2 separate regions of the Homo sapiens genome follow, and region 2 is linked to region 1. Evidence: promoter capture Hi-C in 16 types of primary human blood cells and fetal thymus (Javierre and others, 2016). All regions are on one chromosome and are shown on one strand. Each heading gives the region's core, a stretch centred on a gene start or on the middle of the fragment in contact. The rest is flanking DNA. Distances are from core to core; before and after follow the strand shown. Region 1 holds the start of DDX56 (DEAD-box helicase 56). Region 2 holds the start of NACAD (NAC alpha domain containing).

The links. The method cuts DNA at HindIII sites, captures the fragments that hold promoters and counts their contacts. A CHiCAGO score of 5 or more calls a contact.
Region 2: the fragment with the promoter of NACAD here is called in contact with the fragment with the promoter of DDX56 in region 1 in 12 of 17 cell types (fetal thymus, naive B cells, non-activated CD4 T cells and 9 more); the score reaches 9.2 in fetal thymus.

The regions. Positions count from the first base shown.
Region 1 is chr7:44,572,412-44,577,519 of GRCh38, reverse strand. DDX56 (DEAD-box helicase 56) reads left to right here and starts at 3,612. Exons shown (of 14, transcript NM_019082.4): 1 at 3,612-3,684; 2 at 3,776-3,937; 3 at 4,470-4,630; 4 at 4,776-4,946; 5 at 5,083-5,108. The coding sequence starts at 3,625. RefSeq lists an enhancer at 3,846-3,995. The HindIII fragment of the contact is 6,359 bases long and covers 2,255-5,108 here.
Region 2 is chr7:45,086,727-45,091,905 of GRCh38, reverse strand. NACAD (NAC alpha domain containing) reads left to right here and starts at 2,937. Exons shown (of 8, transcript NM_001146334.2): 1 at 2,937-3,078. The coding sequence starts at 3,012. The HindIII fragment of the contact is 4,426 bases long and covers 155-4,580 here.

The DNA.
Region 1 (5,108 bases), core at 2,363-4,862:
CTGCCTCAGACTCCCGAGTAGCTGGGATTATAGGCGCCCGCCACCATGCCCAGCTAATTTTTGTATTTTTAGTAGAGACAGGGTTTCACCATGTTGACCAGGCTGGTCTTGAATTCCTGACCGCAGGTGACCCGTCTCGCCTCCCAAAGTGCTGGGATTACAGGTGTGAGCTGGCCGGGCACAGGTGATGGGGTCTTGCTCTGTCCCCAAGGCTGGAGTGCAGTGGTGCCATCACAGCTCAAAGCAACCTTGAGCTCCCAGGTTCAAGTGATCCTCCTACCTTACCCTCCCAAGTAGCTGGTACTACAGGTATACTCCACTGTGCCTGGCTATTTTTACTCTTAAAAATACATGTGGGCTGGGCACGGTGGCTCACGCCTGTAATCCTAGCACTTTGGGAAGCCAAGGTGGGTGGATCCCTATAGCCCAGGAGTTCGAGACCAGCCTGGGCAACATGGCGAAATCTTGTCTCTGCAAAAAATACAAAAAATTTAGCTGGTGGCACATGCCTATAGTCCCAGCTACTTGAGAGGCTGAGGTGGAAAGATCACTTGAGCCCGGGAGGTCAAGGCTGCGGTGAGCCATGATCGTGCCACTGCACTCCAGTCTGGGCAACAGTGATCCCATCTGAAAAAAAAAAACAAAAAAAAAAATGCAATTTAGGGCCAGGTGGGGTGGCTCACGCCTATAATCCCAGCACTTTGGGAGGCCAAGGCAGGGGGATCGCCTGAGGTCAGCAGTTTGAGACCAGGCTGGCCAACATGGTGAAAACCCCTCTCTACTAAAAGTATAAAAATTAGCCAGGCATGGTAGTGTGTGCCTGTAATCCCAGCTATTCAGGAAGCTAAGGCAGGAGAATCGCTTGAACCCGGGAGGAGGTTGCAGTGAGCAGAAATCGAGCCACTGCACTCCAGCCTGGGGGGCAGAGGGAGACTCTGTCTCAGAAAAAAAAAAAAAAATGCAATTTAGTTCTCTAGGCTTTTCCATTTAATAGTTTTATATCCTCCTGTTTCTAAATCTGGATGACAGTGTAACACTCCAGTAAGGTGAATTGTGAATTGCTGAAATTCTTCAGATGTTTAAAAGAGTTTTCAGTATTCCTCATGTTAGAATTAATGCAGAGAAAAATTTTATCCTTTGAACTAGTTACATGTTGTGGACTTCTGGCCTGAGGCTCTTGGGGATTATGTGACATATTGGGAAGGGACACATTTCTGCTCTGTGGCTGTTACTAGAAATCTAGCCAGCAAATCAGACTACGTTTGTGAGAAGACAGGAAGGCACAGATTAGGGTTGAGCCAGCCTTCAACAGGTTTGGCTGGCAGTAGACACAGTGGAGCACATCTTAACTATTTTGGTAGGTCCTGGGTTTCTCTTGGTAGTTTTTGATAGAAAGGGGAATGGTGTGAGGAAAAAGTGGGCATACATTTCACCTTTCCACTGATAAGGCAGGTGGAATTGGGATAGTCAGTGGATGGGCCAATAGCTGGTGGCTGTGAGAAGAATAAGGATTTCCATACTGGTGTGTCATATTTACAGATAGGTTGTGACCTAAAAAGTTTTTTAAAAAACAGCAGTTAGGGCCTGGGCGCGGTGGCTCACGCCTGTAATCCCAGCACTTTGGGAGGCCGAGGCGGGCGGATCACAAGGTCAGGAGATCGAGACCATCCTGGCTAACAACGGTGAAACCCTGTCTCTACTAAAAATACAAAAAATTAGCCGGGCGTGGTGGCAGGTGCCTGTAGTCCCAGCTACTCGGGAGGCTGAGGCAAGAGAATGGCGTGAACTCGGGAGGTGGAGCTTGCAGTGAGCTGAGATCATGCCACTGCACTCCAGCCTGGGCGACAGAGTGAGACTCCTTCTAAAAAACAAAAACAAAACCAAAACAGTAGTTAGGGTACACACACACAAATTCTAGTGATTTTCCCCCCAATACTACCCTTGACTTTTGAAATTCTTGCTTTCTCAGAGTTTACAACATCCTTACCAAACAGCCTTCTCCCTCCTTACCACAAAAAAAGAAAAAAAAGTTCTGGGGTTGAGGGGACACTCCATTCTTAACATCCTCTATTATCCCAGCCCAATTCCCCAGCTCTCACTGGGACTAGTTGTACCTATCTTCATCATTTGGTCCCAGCATGACTACCTGTTGGTGCATGAGCTGATCTCTCCTAACCTAACAGCCAGATGCTAGTCTCTGGTACTCAGATGCTGGGCTGCATCAGATAGGATGCACAGGATCATCCTGGAAGCTTGTTGACATAGATTCCTGTGCAACACTCAGATATAGTCTTAATGTAGATTTGTGTTGGGTGGTATGGTAGGTAGAATAATGGCCTACCACTCTGAAACATATGAATATGTTACCTAACATGACAGAAGAGAATTAAGTTGCTAATCAGATGACTGTAAAATAAATTATCCTGGATCATCTGGATGGGCCTAATGTAATCACAAAGGTTGTTTCCTTGCCTTTTCCAGCTTGGCTCTGGCTCCCTTCCTCCAGCAAGGGTGGGTTGAGCTCTCACATGGCACCACTTTGACCTCTTCTGCTTCCCTCTTCTACACTGAAAGACTTATGGGCCAGGAGCAGTGGCTCGCACCTGCAATCCCAGCACTTTGGGAGGCCGAGGAAGGCAGATCGCTTGGCCCCAGGAGTTCAAAACCGTCCTGGGCAACGTGGCGAAACCCCATCTAGAAAGAAAAGAAGAGAAGGGGAGGGGGGAGGGGAGGAGGAGTTACATATATACACATACACACACACACACACGTACGTACATACATACATACACGCTAACTGGACGTGGTGGTGCGTGCCTGTAGTCTTAGCTTTCCAGGAGACTGAGGTGGGAGGACCACTTGAGCCTGAGATCGCGCCAGCCTGGGTGACAGTCAGACCATGTCTCAAAAAAAAAAAAAGATTTGTGATTAGGATTCTTAGTCCTCACCTGTATTATTTTCCTATTGCTACTGTAACAAATTACCACAAATTTACTGGCTTAAAACGACGCAAGTCTGTAGGTCAGAAGTCTGACACGGGTCTTAACTGGTGACCCGAGTCAGATTTGGGACACAAAGAACAGAAACCAAGCTGTGCAGGTTTCTGACAGGCAGTCCGGTTAGGGAGCCCTACAGCAACCCGCCGGTCCTCTCTCTCAGGCAGTTGCTGCCATGGCTCATTATTCCAACCGGTTCTCCTCAGCCCAGTCTATCTCAGTGGCTCCATTCATAGGGTGATGTGCCCGGCGGGACACTAACCCTAACCAAGCAGAGAGACGGTCATGCCCGTCACGACCTCGGCCCTCGCCCCGGCCGAGGCTTCTCCTGCAGGTCGCGAGAATCAGGTGCGTCAGCGGCGTCCGGGAACGCCGGAAGAGCCAGTGGAGCGGCTCTGTAGTCCAAAGTACCCCGTCGACCCCAGCACGGCCGCTCCACCGCCTCCTACTAGACCCAGTCCTAGGGACTGCGCAGTCGCAGAGCTCCGTCCGAGTACCGGAAGCCTAGGCCGCCAGCACTTCCGGGAAGTGACTTCGTCTCCGAAGCCGATTGGTTGTTGCTTTGCTCCCGCTCGCGTCGGTGGCGTTTTTCCTGCAGCGCGTGCGTGCTGCGCTACTGAGCAGCGCCATGGAGGACTCTGAAGCACTGGGCTTCGAACACATGGGCCTCGATCCCCGGCTCCTTCAGGTACACGCGAGGGCTGGGGAGCCGGCTTACGGGCTCTGCGGGGCGCGCCATCGCTCTTCACGCCGCTTAAACCGCACTCCTGGTCTCCTAGGCTGTCACCGATCTGGGCTGGTCGCGACCTACGCTGATCCAGGAGAAGGCCATCCCACTGGCCCTAGAAGGGAAGGACCTCCTGGCTCGGGCCCGCACGGGCTCCGGGAAGACGGCCGCTTATGCTATTCCGATGCTGCAGCTGTTGCTCCATAGGAAGGCGGTGGGTAACGAGAGAGCTGAGGGGAGGAAGGAGGCAAGCTCCAAAAGCCTGGGAAGGGCGGTTCCCGTTTGTCTGAGGTTTTCTCTTGGCCCTGTACCCGTGCAGGCCGGCCTGAGAACCTGGTGCTGTTGTGGCAAACACTCTGGGCTGGAGTTCAGGTTACCTGGATCCTTGTCCGGCCCTGCTACCACCAACCTTTGCGTAATCTTCGACAAAGCACTTTCTTTTCTTTCTTACATAAAAAGGGAGCACATCTATCTTTTCTACTTACAGAATTATTGTGAGAATTTAGCTTCATAACTAGTATATTTAAAGTAGCTTCATAAACATCAGAGTACGTTATTCTTTTTGAGGGTCAGTGCCTGGGGAAAGAACTCTCCACTCTGCATTCTGAGGCGGGCAGAGTGATAGATGATCAAAGTACTGCTAAGTAGTGTTGCAGCAGATGGGTCAGGTAGGCTGGAAGGGGTAGAGACACGTGGACACAGTGATGTGCACTGCTGGCTAAAGTCTTTAATTCATATTCTTACAGACAGGTCCGGTGGTAGAACAGGCAGTGAGAGGCCTTGTTCTTGTTCCTACCAAGGAGCTGGCACGGCAAGCACAGTCCATGATTCAGCAGCTGGCTACCTACTGTGCTCGGGATGTCCGAGTGGCCAATGTCTCAGCTGCTGAAGACTCAGTCTCTCAGAGGTGGGTAAAAGCAGCAAAGCTGTACCTGAATGAAGCTACACAGTGTTGTGGGGTTGGGTTTGTGTGTGGCAAAAAAGAGAGCAAATCCAGGGTGAGATCCCAGCTGCTACATTCTGCCTGATACTGATGTCTTGTCCACCTCCAGAGCTGTGCTGATGGAGAAGCCAGATGTGGTAGTAGGGACCCCATCTCGCATATTAAGCCACTTGCAGCAAGACAGCCTGAAACTTCGTGACTCCCTGGAGCTTTTGGTGGTGGACGAAGCTGACCTTCTTTTTTCCTTTGGCTTTGAAGAAGAGCTCAAGAGTCTCCTCTGGTAAGGCAGAGGTGGGTGTGATTCCTAGTGGAAACATCTGTGAGTAGGAGTTGGGACGAGAGCGGGGTGGCTGGAAGCCAGTTACTACAATTAGCGGCCCTTGGAGCTGGAATCTGATTGGATTCTTTCATTTCAGTCACTTGCCCCGGATTTACCAGGCTT
Region 2 (5,179 bases), core at 1,688-4,187, 520 kb before region 1:
ATGTTAGCCAGGCTGGTCTCGAACTCCTGATCTCAAGTGATCCGCCCACCTTGGCCTCCCAAAATGCTGGGATTACAGGCGTGAGCCACCACATCCAGCCTTGAACAGATGTTTCTTCATTTGCTGTTTGCCCTTCAGACCATTTCCAGAAGCTTTAATTTGTTCTCTCTTTCACTTTTATTTTGTTGGGCCCTTTCTTTTTTTTTTTTTTTCCCAAGACGGAGTCTCACTCTGTCACCAGGCTGGAGTGCAGTGGCACGATCTCAGCTCACTGCAACCTATGCCTCTCAGGTTCAAGCAATTATCCTGCCTCAGCCTCCCGAGTAGCTGGGACTACAGGCATGCACCATCACGCCCGGCTAATTTTTGTATTTTTAGTAGAGACAGGGTTTCACCATGTTGGCCAGGAAGGTCTTGATTTCTTGACCTCATGATCTGCCCACCTCAGCCTCCTGAAGTGCTGGGATTACAGGCATGAGCCACCACGCCTGGCTTGCTGACCTTTCAACTCAGTTTGTTTTTTTTTTTTTTTAATAATTTTTACCAGGCTGGGTGTGGTGGCTCACACCTGTAATTCCAACACTTTGGGAGGCCAAGGTGGGTGGATCACGAGGTCAGGAGTTCAAGACCAGCCTGGCCAACAGGGTGAAACCCCGTCTCTACTAAAAATACAAAAATTAGCCAGGCATGGTGGGACCTGTAGTCCCAGCTGCTCGGGAGGCTGAGACAGTAGGATCGCTTGAACCCGGAAGACAGAGGTTGCAGTGAGCCGAGATCATGCCACTGCACTACAGACTGGTCAAAAGAGCAAGACTCCATCTCAAATTAAAAAATTAAAATTAATAATAATAATTTTTACCAGTTTCACTGGGGAGCTGCTCAGCAGAACTCCCCATGCTTTCATTCTGGAAGTCAATCTGCCTTTTATTTCTTCTTGCTTTATTGCAAGGTTTAGAAATTCCAATAATATGTTGAAAAGAGTGGTGAGTGCGGACACCCTTGCCTTGTTCCCAATCTTAAAAAGCATTCAGTCTTTCACCATTAAGTATGATGTTAGCTGTATAAGTTTTTTATATAAGATCTTTATCAAGTTTATTTTTAACTTGCTGAAAGTGTTTTTTTTTAAATCATGAATGATGTTGGTTATGTCAAACACATTTTCTGTGTCAACTGATACCAAAATTTTTCTTCTTTAGCCTGTTGGTGTTCTGGAGTATTGTTGATTGATTTTCAACTGTCAAACCAGCCTTGCATACGTGGAATAAATTCCACTTGGTCATGGTGTATTTTTTTTATACATCATTATATTTGATTTGCCAATATTGAGAATTTTTGTGCCTGAATTCATGAGAGATGCTGGTCTGCAGTTTTCGTTTTGGGGGTCTTGGGGTGTATTGACACTTTGTTAGTTTTTTTTTTTTTTTTTTTTTTTTTGAGACGGAGTCTCGCTCTGTCGCCCAGGCTGGAGTGCAGTGGTGCGATCTCGGCTCACTGCAACCTCCGCTTCCCGGGTTAACGCCATTCTCCTGCCTCAGCCTCCTGAGTAGCTGGGACTACAGGAGCCCGCTACCACTCCCGGCTCATTTTCTGTATTTTTAGTAGAGACGGGGTTTCACCACGTTAGCCAGAATGGCCTCGATCTCCTGACCTCGTGATCCGCCAGCCTCGGCCTCCCAAAGTGCTGGGATTACAGGCGTGAGCCTCCGCGCCTGGCGACACATTGTTAGTTTTGACATCAGGATATTTCTTGCCTTATAAAATGAGTTAGGAAGTGTCCCCTTCTCTTTTGTTTTCTGGAAGAGATTGTTTGAAGTTGATGTTAATTCTAATGGTGTGGTGTGTCTGACTCCTGGGGTACAGCGGGGAGAGATGCCCAGCAGGCAGCCAGGTGTGTAGCACTGAGCCTTGAGGCAGGTCTGGGGGAGTCAGAGGGCAGCCCCTGGCTTCATGAGCTCAAAGTTAGAACCCACAGAAGACTGAGGATGTTGAAACCTCCCTCCCTGCCTGTGACAATGGCTACTCTGATTCCCCCCACCCCAGTCAGGGGTGATGACAATGTCTCATTCATCTGTCTCCCTGGTGCCTGGCACGGGGGAGGAGGGGTGCTCAGTGAATCTGGGTGGCGCAGTAGCCTGTGTGAAAGCAAGAGGCATTTCAGGAAATTCACGGGGCGGGCTTCCTCCTGGGAGGTGTGGCAGAGGGTGCTGCCAGGAATAGAGGGAAACACTTTCTTCCTTTTCCTTCTACTGCCTAGTGTGGGGGTGGAGGGGAGATGATAGGACAGATCACCGAGTTGCCTAGAGACCTGGAGACCGACCCATCCGGGTCGCCTTCCCTGGTGCGCTCTCGTCGGCTCCATCCCTGGTTGCCATGGAGACAGGAGGCGGTTGCCACGGAGACCGACGACTGCCAGGACCAGCCAATCACTCCAGAGCTGCAGCTCCAGCTCACCTTTTGCATGGAGGCATCGGGCTGGGCGGGGCCCCCTCCCTCCCCAGGCCCTGCACCCTCTGCTTGGTCAGCGGGGAAGGAGGCTGCGCCGCCAACTCCACCCAAAGCGCTCCGAGCATCCCAGAATCCCAACCACCTCCCCAGCCTCCCACAACCAGGGTTCTAGGGGCGTCCCCGCCTCTTCCTGGCCACGGGCGAATGCCACCCTGAGGCAACCCAGCTTCCAATTGGCCCTGAAACCCTCCCTCGTAAATGCTGTGGAAAGGGTGGGACCGGGCGCAGGCGCCCACCCCCGCTCCCCCACGAAACCGCCCACAGCGAGAGGGAGGCCACAGCCGGGTGGGGTGGGGGCGGGGAGGGAGCCCCCCCTACGCCCTCCGCAGTGCCTGGCGAGCCCGCGCACGCTCACTCGCTGGGACAGGCGGGCGGGGCGGCCTGACGTCACCCACTGCCCCCACCGCCCGGCCGAGGGGCGGTGGCCGCGCAGGCTCGGCGGGGCGGCGGCACGGACTGACGGAGGGTCGGAAGGACTGAGGGACGGGCGGGCGCACGGCCAGGCCATGCCTGGGGAGGCTGCCCGCGCCGAGCTGCTGCTGCCCGAGGCGGACCGACCCGGGCCCCGCACAGGTGAGGCCGTGGCCACTCTTTCCCTGCCTTCAGCCTCTCCCCTCTCCAGCCCGGGTTCTCTTTCCATCGCTCACCTTTCACCCCTCTCCCCCATCCCCCTGGCCCCCCTCGAGTCCCCTCCCCTTTCCGCGCCCTGTCCTTCCCTCCATCTGAACCCTGCTACCGCCTCTCTCAGAACTGCGGGGAAGGTGGGGCGCACGAAGTGCCCGCCGCGAGCCAGAAAGAACGTGGGGGCTTAAGCCCTTGGCTTCCGACCCAGGGATCGTGGGGCTCGCATCCCGCCCGCTGCATCCCGTTGTTTGCACCGAGCTGCCAGCCTGCTGGGGCTGGGCCGCTCTGGACAGAGGCAGCGGGTTCTGGAGGCGGGGTGTCCGGCTGATACCCCCAGTACGATCAGGTGACCACCGGGAGGGTCCTCAGTTGCACCCGGTCTGTCCTGGGCCGGCGACTGGTCATGGCTCTGGAGGGAGGAGCAGGACTGGCCAGAGCCTAGGAAGCCCGGATGGAGGGCCAGGTGGTGGAATAAAGCCTAAGTTGGGTCTGGAAGGTGGAAGGCCTTGGGGGAGGTGGCCTGATTAGCAATGGCCCTGGGTGTGCAGACCACCTGTCCTTAGGCTGGGTCAACAAATGCTGGTGGAGGCTGATGGGGTCTACGGGGCCTAGAAAGAGCCGAGCCTGGACAGTCCTGGCGTGGAGGTCAGCCATGTGTGGGTAGGGCCAAGGGCACCTTGCTGTGGGCAAGAAGTCACCCAGAGATGGGACCACTGCTGGGGCCTGGGGCCTGGTTTGGGGTGACACAGGCTGCTGCCTCTGCTCTAGGTGGGAGGCAGGGAGTGCAGGCCCAGACTTCCCAGCCCCAGGGTCTTGTGCTGGCTCTGTTCTGGCTTGCTTGGTGACCTTGAATGAGTTATAAAAACCTTTGGCCTTTGGTTTCTGCTCCATCCCAACAGCTCAGCCGTTCCCCTGCCCTGGGGGCCACACCAGGGGCCAGAACCAAGAGCCCAGCTTCAGGGCACCCAGTGATGCCCCACCAGCCACGCCCACTCCTGATGTTGGGTGTCAGGCATGCAAGAACCCAAAGGACCCCCTTGTCTCAGGACCCCCTGGATGTCCCATCACCCCAGCAGCAAAGCCCTTGGGTGACAAGTTTTGGCTGGTGGTTCAGGGCTCAGGGCTCTGATGCTGCTGAGGGGAGCTGGAGCAGCCTGGCAACAGGGTCCCCCTTCTTTCAGCTTCAACTCTAATCCTGGCTCTGCTTTGTAGATGAGAAAGCTGAGGTGCAAGAGATGTTGTCCTGGTCACCAGTGAGTGCGGGAGAGCAGGAGCCACCAGGCAGGCATCTGCAGCCTGGAGAGCTGGCCCCTGTGTGCCGCCGCTCCCCCACCTTGGGCAAGACCTGGCCTGGGCTCTGAAGGGCCTTCATTGGATGCTTCAAACAGAGGTGCCTTTGGCCTAGGTCCAAGTGAGGGAGTGGACATAATGGAGACATTTAAAATGAAGCTTATGAGCATTTAGAGCACACAGGAAAATGCTTATGAGATTAGGTTGGGTGAAAATAGCTAGATTCAAAACTGAATGTGCAATGTGATCTCGCCTGTGATAAAATACAGGCCAGTAAGAGTCCAGGAGGCAGAAAACCATAGCGGTCTGGTGTGCCGCAACCTCGGAGGGGTTTTCTTCCATCTTCCTGAGTCCCCTAAGTCCTTTCTGACCCATGAGGGCTACTTCCTATGGACTCCTTTCTCAGCTGGAGGTGTGTTAGCTCACAGACGTTTACTGAGTACCAGAGCCTCCTCATACTGAAGCCTGCCCAGCGGGTTGGGGGAGTGCATCATGGGACCCAGAGAAGGCCCACAGGGCAGGGTGGGAACTCCCAGCACCCGGGAAGGAACTGGTGGTCACCCATGGGGTGGCTGCCACCAAGGAGAGGACTCAGCCAGAGGCTGCTGTTGGCCCTCTGAAGCTGTCCTGTGCTCTTGCTGGGCTCCATGGTCTCCGTTCCTGCCCACCACTGCCCTTGTGGCCAGATGCTCCAGCAAAGCCTCCACGGGACACTTCATCTCTGTTCTCCAGAAACTTGGCTGCGTGTGGTGGCCCCTGG